Regions from separate parts of the Homo sapiens genome. Here region 2 is linked to region 1. Evidence: promoter capture Hi-C in human tissues and cell types (Jung and others, 2019). All regions are on one chromosome and are shown on one strand. Each heading gives the region's core, a stretch centred on a gene start or on the middle of the fragment in contact. The rest is flanking DNA. Distances are from core to core; before and after follow the strand shown. Region 1 holds the start of EPHX2 (epoxide hydrolase 2). Region 2 overlaps BNIP3L (BCL2 interacting protein 3 like).

What was found. The method cuts DNA at HindIII sites, captures the fragments that hold promoters and counts their contacts. A contact is called where the count stands out against the background at its distance.
Region 2: a contact is called between a fragment that was not itself captured here and the fragment with the promoter of EPHX2 in region 1, in 1 of the 25 tissues and cell types used here (dorsolateral prefrontal cortex).

What each region holds. Positions count from the first base shown.
Region 1 is chr8:27,488,087-27,492,454 of GRCh38, forward strand. It overlaps EPHX2 (epoxide hydrolase 2), which reads left to right and starts at 3,057. Exons shown (of 19, transcript NM_001979.6): 1 at 3,057-3,223. The coding sequence starts at 3,123. RefSeq lists a cis regulatory region at 800-1,114 and a silencer at 2,861-3,140. The HindIII fragment of the contact is 8,102 bases long and covers 1-3,447 here.
Region 2 is chr8:26,385,837-26,390,254 of GRCh38, forward strand. All of the region lies in intron 1 of BNIP3L (BCL2 interacting protein 3 like), which reads left to right. Among named protein-coding and RNA genes, the nearest start is that of BNIP3L, 5.0 kb to the left of the region's middle. RefSeq lists a silencer at 1-11. The HindIII fragment of the contact is 3,170 bases long and covers 579-3,748 here.

The DNA.
Region 1 (4,368 bases), core at 1,807-4,306:
TCCATGAGTATCTACAGTAGAGAGAAGCAGCAGTGTAAAGTCCTCCCTCCCAACCCCTAGTGGTTAAACAGATTTTATAAAATAGGGTTTGACAATCAAGGACTAGCAGGAAGTTGCAGAAGGCACAGGAATGGCAGAAAACCCAAAATAAACCTTAATGAGGTCAGTGTACATTCATTATGAATTTAGTGATTGAAATCAGGTGTAATTTATAAATTTTCACTACTACATTAGCCATCTTTTATGATTCATGCTATCACCTAAAACATATTTCATAAATATTAAAATTAGAAGACATAGGGGTTAGGATTTACATTTCAAAAAGCCACCCAGTTCCCATAGCCCTGCTGGGTAAGCCCTTATCTCTCTGTACCTTAGTAGCAGAAAACACAGGAGAAGCACGACCATGAAAAAGGGCAAAGTGCAGTGAAATGCAATTGAGACCTTTAATCTTTGCCTAAGCAATTCAGCCAGAAAGCTCTGTAACTCACAAGGCATTATAAAAATATTCCACACCAGAGCTATTTACAAGTTAACTGCTCCTGAATAAATAAAAGTCCATGTGATAGCTTCATGGCTTTCTCTTAACCAAAGAGGAAAGTAAAACTCATATTTCTATGTTTTTAAATTTTTCTTCTCAAAAGGGGGCTTTATGAAATCTAGTTCTGTAGGTATGTCGTTCCTCTACACTTTACTGCTTGTATAAATATACTTACGTATTCATAAGCAATACTGTGCTAGATGCAGAATTCAGATGCAGGCAACAGAAATCACTGTAGTTATTTTAAATAGAAACAGAAGAAAGGGATTTAAGATGAGAGACTGCAAGCCTACACAATCTTTGAACGGAATGGAGGAGTGAGCTCCAGACTGAGCCTTTAGGAAGGACTCCCAGAAAACACCACCATAGAACTAGAAGCTGCTATCTCTGCCTCAATCAGCAGGCCACCGCTAGAAACACGAACATATGGTTTGGCTGGGAGCCAAGGATCTGGAAGCAACTCCGTGGTCTCGGGACTGAGCCACTGAGTCAATGGGGATGCCAGTTTGTAAGATAGGGAACACACTAGGAGGAACAGGCGTGGGAAGTAGAAATGCAGAGAGAGTTCTGTTTTAGCCATGATAAATTTGAGATGCCTGTTAGACACTCAAGAGAAGATGTTCAGTAAGAAGTTGGATATTGACGTTGAGTAAGATGTTGAGTAAGAAGTTGGCAAGTCTGGAGCCCAAAGGAAACTCTAAGTTGGAGATTTAATTTCTTTCTTTTTTTTTTTTGGAGGTAGAGTCTTGCTGTGTCACCCAGGCTGGATGGAGTGCAGTGGCACAATCATGGCTCACTGCAGCCTCCACTTCCTGGGCTAAAGTGATCGTCCCACCTCAGCCTCCTGAATAGCAGAGACTACTGGCATGCACCACCATGCCTAGCTAATATTTTATTTTTATTTTTTATAGAGAGAATGTCTTGCTTTGTTGCCCAGGCTTGTCTCAAACTCCTGGCCTCAAGCAATTCTCCCACCTCAGCCCCAAAGTGCTGGGATTACAGGTGTGTGCCACCATGCCCAATCTGGAGATTTAACAGGTTTCATACTATATAGGTCAGGCTGCAATTTTCTTTCTATTTTTTAAAATTCAATTATACCTTTGAGATCAACTAACTTCATGAGAAACTAGCTTGCTGTACTCCCTTCTCTGCCTATCTTTCAGTCTTCAAATCCAGAGTAATCCAGTTTCTACCATAAAGGGCCCACAAAAAGTGTTCTGAAACATCCGGTGTCATCCAAGTCCAAAATTGGACAGCTTTTTTTTCAGTTCTTCCTGTAACATTTGGCAGTGTTGGCCACTCTCTGCTTCTTTGGCAAGAATCTCAGAAAACACTAATAACTGCTCCAGGCAGGAGCCTGGAAGAGGTTACCAAGCTAGAGAAGGAAGCAACAGCATAGCTTGCTAAGGGCAAACAGCCCAGAGGAAACCCACGGCTCTGGTCAATCCTGTTGTTGATTGCTAGATCCAGAGACTGTTGTAGACCTCCCAGTTACAGTGAGGTATCTGACAACCCCTCACAAGGTTCTTGAAGCTCCGTGGTGGAGGGTATCTTGGATAAATCCACAGAGACACATTCAAGAGTAAATTCTCCACTGTTGGAGACCTCACTCACTCTGTTTGGTCTCCACCAAAGACACGGTTTTTAATTCATGGAGCTGCACTACAACAGCTCAAGAACTCCCAGCCAAAGTTTTAGTTTTTCTAGGAACATAAACGAGCCAATAGTGTGGAAATCGGTGATTAAAAACAAACCTCGCACATTTTAAGACAGAATTATTACAAGTAGCATGTACAAAAGGAAAATAATAGCCTACATTTAGTTCTTCTAAGCTTCATTCCACAAGAGATTGAAATCGAAGTATTCTGGGCTGGCACACGATAGCTGGAACATCATATTTTATTCTAGAAACACATTTGCCTTGGCAAAGAAGAGCGTGCCTAGAGGAGTGGTCAGGATAGTGAGGGATCTGTGATCCTTCGTTCTGAATCTAGAAAAGTCACTGGATATGCCCCTCCCCCGCCCCCCAACACGGTCTTATGTTCTGAATGTAGAAGTCACTGGATGTGCTGACACACACACACACACACACACACACACACACACACACACACACACACACACACAGAGTCTGTGGCCTCTTTCCCAGGCATTCCAAGTCCAGCAAGTTCGCAGGGAGCTGTCAGTCCGTCCAGGAAGGCCCGGGCCTGGGTTTGCCTCTTCAAGCAGCTACTGCAGGGGCGTGGGGAGGGGGCATAAGAGACTTTGGACTTTCCTTTGAGACAGTAGAAAGCGTTACATCCAGAGGCGAGATTCTAGCCTGGGGTCCCCGCCTTCCCGGCCTCCTCTTCCTCTCCCTCTGACTCCCTTTCCTGTGCCCCTCCCCCTGCCTCTTTCCCGGCCAGAGTCCAGCCTTAACCCGGGCAGAGGGCGGAGTCCCGTTAAGGGGGTGTGGGGAGGAGGCGGGGCCAGGGCAGGGGCGGGGCAGAGCCGGGCCAAGCTGGGCGGGTCATGCGCCCTGGCCTTCGCGCATCTCCCAGGTTAGCTGCGTGTCCGGGTGCTAGGCTGCAGACCCGCCGCCATGACGCTGCGCGCGGCCGTCTTCGACCTTGACGGGGTGCTGGCGCTGCCAGCGGTGTTCGGCGTCCTCGGCCGCACGGAGGAGGCCCTGGCGCTGCCCAGGTAAGGGGGCCCAGCGCCGCCGCCGCAGTGGGTCGGGGCCTCAGGAGGCAGACCGCGCTGGGCTTGCAGCCCAGCTTTCAGATTGCTCCTGTGCCGGAGCCCTGCGAATCATGCGAATCATGAAACTGAAGACCTGGCCCTGAAGTCCCAGTGCATATGAGGAGATCCGTTGTCTTTCTAAATGTTCATAATTAAACGTTGCCAAGGTCTCCAAAATTGCTTTCTGTGAACTTTTCCAAAAGGGAGAGGAGTTACTCATGGAGCTTTGTGCTTCTGCTGCCTCCTGTCTAATGGGGTGGCGCTTAAAGATGCGAGCCGAGATTCAGGAGAGAAGAAAGTTCTCTCCCCAGGTGTGGGTTGCATGCTTACTTGTGTAATAGCAAACTGCAGCAACCGCCCAAAGCCACATCACTGGGAAATGGTAGATGGGGTGTGCAGAGTGAGAGCTCAGGGACTTGGGAAAACACCTGTTCTACTACATGAAAAAACCACCCCACCAGAATCTGAAGCTATTTATACAATATGGTTTCAGCTATGGAAAAAAGGTACATGCAGAAAAGTGCCTGAAAGAAATAGGCCAAAGTACATCAAATGAGATTAGGAATAATGTAATGATTTTCTTTCTCTCTCTCTTTTTTTTGTGTTTTTTTTTTTTGTAGTTTCCAACTTCTAAATTTATAAACAATGTATTATTCCCACATTCAGAAAGGAGAGAAGTATACTTATTTATAAAGTGAAAAAGAAGGCCAGGCATGGAAGCCATTGTTCATATCCTCCTTTTACATATGAGGAAACTGAGGCACAGAAAGAAACCAGCTGTCCAAATCACATAGCTGTTAAAGAGCAGAGCCAGAAATCCAACCCCAGTAGTCCATGTCCGGAGCCTTTGCTTTTAATATAGTAAGGAAGATGAGATGGCAAGTAGCTTGAGGGAAAGGCATGTAATCTCTGTGCTTTGGGAAGCTAAGGTGGGAGGATCACTTGAGGCTGAGAGTTCAAGACCAGCCTGGGTGAAAGAGCAAGACCCTGTCTCTCCAAAAATAAAAATAAAATTAGCTAGACATTAGTGCATGCATGTAGCCCCAGCTACTTGGGAGGCTAAGGCAGAAGGATTGCCTGAGCCCAGGAGTTGGAGGCTATAGTTG
Region 2 (4,418 bases), core at 914-3,413, 1.1 Mb before region 1:
TTTAGATATTGCCATATTTAATTACTCCCTTCTTGCCTCTCACTCTGTTCGTTTTTTTAGCTCATTACACAACACTGTACTGAACAAAACAAGAAGCCTCATTGAATTCCTTGAAGTGATTTTTGGGCAATGGGCAAAACAACTTATTCAGGCATCTAGTACTATCCAAATTGCTGATAAGTCGAAGGACTTTGTTGGGTAAAGTTGCACAACTGAAAAACAGGAGAAGAAATGTACAGATTATCTTGCGTTTGGGATTTTATCTTTGGTTCAGGGGTCAAAGCAGGGTTTCAATAGCAAATTACTGAAGTATTTGAATAGTGAAGTATTTTTGTGATTTTTTTTTAACTTTACCGCTGTGGAGAGACTGTTCACTTTCATTAAAAATTACAGGGCAAATACCCAAACTCCTTCCAAGTCAAAAGGATGTTGTCCAGTTTGTTTTATTGTTAAGAAAACTATCAACTTCCTTAAGAATGTTTGAATAAGATTCAATAGGGCCGAATAAGGAAAATCAAAGTAGTAGTGTAAATCGTAGTATAATTCTTGTTGTTGAGAAGTATAGCCTTTTTTTTCTTTTCAAATTTTCTTGTTCTTTTTTGTTTTTTGTTTTGTTGAGACAGGGTCTTGCTTTGTCACCCAAACTGGAGTGCAGTGGTACAGTCATAGCTCATGGCAGCTTAGACCTCCTGGGCTCAAGTGATCCTCCTGCCTCAGCCTCCCAAGTAGCTAGGACTGCAGGTGTGCACCCCCACATCCAGCTAATTATTTTATTTCTTGTAGAGTTCGAGTTTCACTTTGTCACCCAGGCTGGTCACCGGCTAACTTATTTTTTGTAGAGATGGAGTTTTGCTTTGTTGCCCAAGCTGGTCACAAACTCTTTTTTTTAAATAGAAACATCTTCAAGCACAATGTCCTTGCTTTCTTGTTATGAAGAGTGCTCTTAAGGCCTTCATGGATTGTCACTGCCTCATAATAATGTTTTGAATACCTACGTAACTTGTATGTAAATACATACTGCTGCAAAAAGACCAACTTTTCAAAAATTTATTTATTTATTTTTTTATTTAAGAAGAATGCCAGTAACTCTTGTTGGCCTGGTCTGGATTTCAGCATCAGGTTGGCCTGGTCTGGATTCCTTTCAATAATGAATGAAAAGCTTTGAGGAAAGAATGTAAATATAATGAAATTTCAAAAGAGTTACATGTGGGCCTTGAAAAGTTAGGGGGAAAGATGAGGAGAAATACTCTTCATTCTCTCCTCCCCTTGTCCCAAAGCTCCTCTCTTCTTCTTCTTGCAAGAGGATTGAACTAGTGATTATAAAACTGTAAAGATTATACAACATACGGCAATGAGTATAATCACAATTATTGGACCACCCTTCACAGTCTATTATGTTAGAGAACGGAGAAGCATTCACAGAAGTTTCTCTGAATCTCTTAGTCATTCCCAAAAACCCAAACCAGAAAATATCTCATGTCATTGTATGTTATGTACAAATTGGCATAAGGAACAGCTCTTAGTTTGTAAAGTCTTTTAGATAATGGAGAAAGCTTCCAGCTTTTAGTTTTCAAGCTTGATCATTAGGAGGAGAATTCACTCTGTGGTTGTTTTCTACTTTGTGTTGCTTGGACAGCACAAACCTCTTATCTAGCCTTGTTTCCTTTCCAAGTAAAAAGGGACTTTGTGAGGATTGGTAGAGTTAGAACACTAAGAAATTCTGAGGCTGTAAATCAGGAACAAATCGGGTGATGGGAAACAGACGTGTTGTTCATCTATTGAGGAAGACACATTTGCTTTTTTATGTGTTACTCAAAAGATTAATATGTAGCCTCTTAATGCCTGTGTACATAACTTTCTCTGTACCACTATGTATTTCCATAGATGATATTTTTGAAAGAGAATTACCCTTAATTAATTAAAGGAAATCTACACTTTTAAGGCTGTTAATACCTATTGTCAAATTATTCTCCAGAATGTTCACTGAAGCCCTAATTGTAATAACAAAGTATTAGAAACAACCATCTCAGTAGTAGTTAACCATTGCCATTTAGATAATGGTTAAAGTATGGTATATCTTTATAAAAGATGAGATGCAATGCAGTTGTTCAAAAGAATGAATGTCAGTATATATTGATAGGGAAGACATCTGAAAAACGACTTACAGAATATGTCAGTATGTGTGTATGGTACAGTTCCATTTCTTTATAAAAACAAAAGCAAAAACAGACCTATATTTCATTGACAAAAACTCTGCAAGTCTCCATGTGAAACTGTCAAAAGTGGCTCCTTTGGGAGTAGGAACGGGAGGTTGGGAGAGATGTTAATTTTTAATTTTATGTACTGATGTTTACGTTTTCTAGGAACACATTTTTCCAGTAAGGAATGGTTTTTCTATGATATAGAATATAATTGTAGTAGCTAAAACTTTCTTAGGGACCTTTCTTATTGTTCTGCGTGCTATATTCATTTAATCCTCCTAACAAAGTCTTCGAGGTAGATACAGTTATTATCTCTATTTTATAGATGAGAAAACTGAGGCACAAAGAGGTTAAGTACCCTGTGCGAGGGTAACAGCTATAACTGAGAGTGGGAGCCTGGCTTCAGTCTCAGCCCCTGACCACACTATACCAGTGTATCCCAAGTACAAATTGTCCGCCTTAAGTAGAAATGCTTTCAGTTATGATTCAGGGTGTGGAGGCCACAGCAGAGATCACTTTTACTAAGCTTTTCTAGGTATGTCTCTTTCAGGTTCCAAAAGTATATATTGGATTATGATTGCTTATGTGTTTTTAATGAAGAAAATAGGATCCAGACATTGATTTGAAAGTCCTTCAAAAAAGTAAAAACCAGGTTGGGAGCAGTGGCTCATACCTGTAAGCCCAGCACTTTGGGAGGCTGAGGTGGGAGGATTGCTGAAGCCCAGGAGTTTGAGACCAACCTGGGCAATGTAGGGAGACCCTGTCTCTACTAAATAAATAAATAAATAAATAAATAAATAAATAAGTCGGGCATGGTGGCATGTGCCCTGTAGTCCCAGCTTCTTGGGAGGCTGAGGTGGGAGGATTGCTTGGGCCCAGGAATCAAGGCCGCAGTGAGCTGTGATTGTGCCACTGTACTACAGCCTGGGTGACAATGCAAGACTGTCTCAAAAGAAAAACAAAAGTAAGGACCAGAAAACCTGATATTGTTTGTTACACCCTTTTTTCTCTTCGATTGCCTACTTCAAGTGAATATTAATTGTATTTTAGGGAAGACTGACTTCCACAGAGACCTATCTGGAACTCCTGGTTCCTTACCTCTGCTTCTGTCAGAGCAGCTCTGGGTTTTGGTTTGTTACTATTGTACACATTAGGCTTCTATACAAGAAGAACTGGTCCCATTGGTTTAAAAATAAGTTTGAAAATCCTAGAAACAGTGAGAGTCAGAAAAAAAAACTGTTTTTATATACATATTCTCTCCCCCACCCCCTTTCTCTCCAGTTGAAATATGTTGCAGAGCTCTAAATTTAGGGATGCTTTTGGCGTATTTCTTATACACTCCAGAGGCACTCGAGATAAATTATCTTCAATGTTAGATCTCTCTTAGCTTTGCTAGTTGTATTTGTTAATCCATTTTGAGTTCTCTAGCCTGTGTCCATTTTATGTGTGTATAGAATGAGGCCATGGAGATGTTGTACAACTGTGTCGTTTGGCAGCAGAGTCCTAAGGAATTGGTGGTGACTATGGGATGGTGGTAGCCACTGGGGCTGCCTCAAATGGAAAGGAAAGGGTTCTAAGTATTTATAAAAGAAAATTCTAGTGTATAACTGAGCATCTTCTATTTACCAGCACTTGATACTACTAAATCGTCACAGCACCCCGGTGTTATTATTATCTCTGTTTACAAATGAGGAAGCTGAAGCTCAGGTCACACAGGTAGACAGGAAGTGATGGGGTCAGATTCCCAGCTAGGTCTGCCTTGGAGCTTTCCTTCTTGTGAGGGTGATGTTCAGTTCACTCTGGAACTGGTGTAGCCATCGCCACATTTAGAGTGCATTTTAGAGTTTGAGCCAGTTTTGATGATTTTACTTCAACTTACTGATGGAACTCCTTGTTCATCCCTGGAACTCTCTAACACTTCTGCTGGGAGTTTAGAGGGATGGCCACACCAAGCTGCTTGGGTACATTTTCTAAAACAAAATTTATTGTAAGAAATGGAAATTATGAACAAAATATACCACTATCTCTTTTTGCTGTGAAGTTAAGTTTATTGGCTACTGTTAACAATTTATTTACTTACTTACTTACTATTCTTTTGTAGAGACAGGGTCTTGCCATGTTCCCCAGGCTGGTGTCAAACTCCTGGATTCAAGCAATCCTGGTGCCTCAGCCTCCCAAAGTGCTGGGATTACATGTGTGAGCCACTGTACCTGGCCT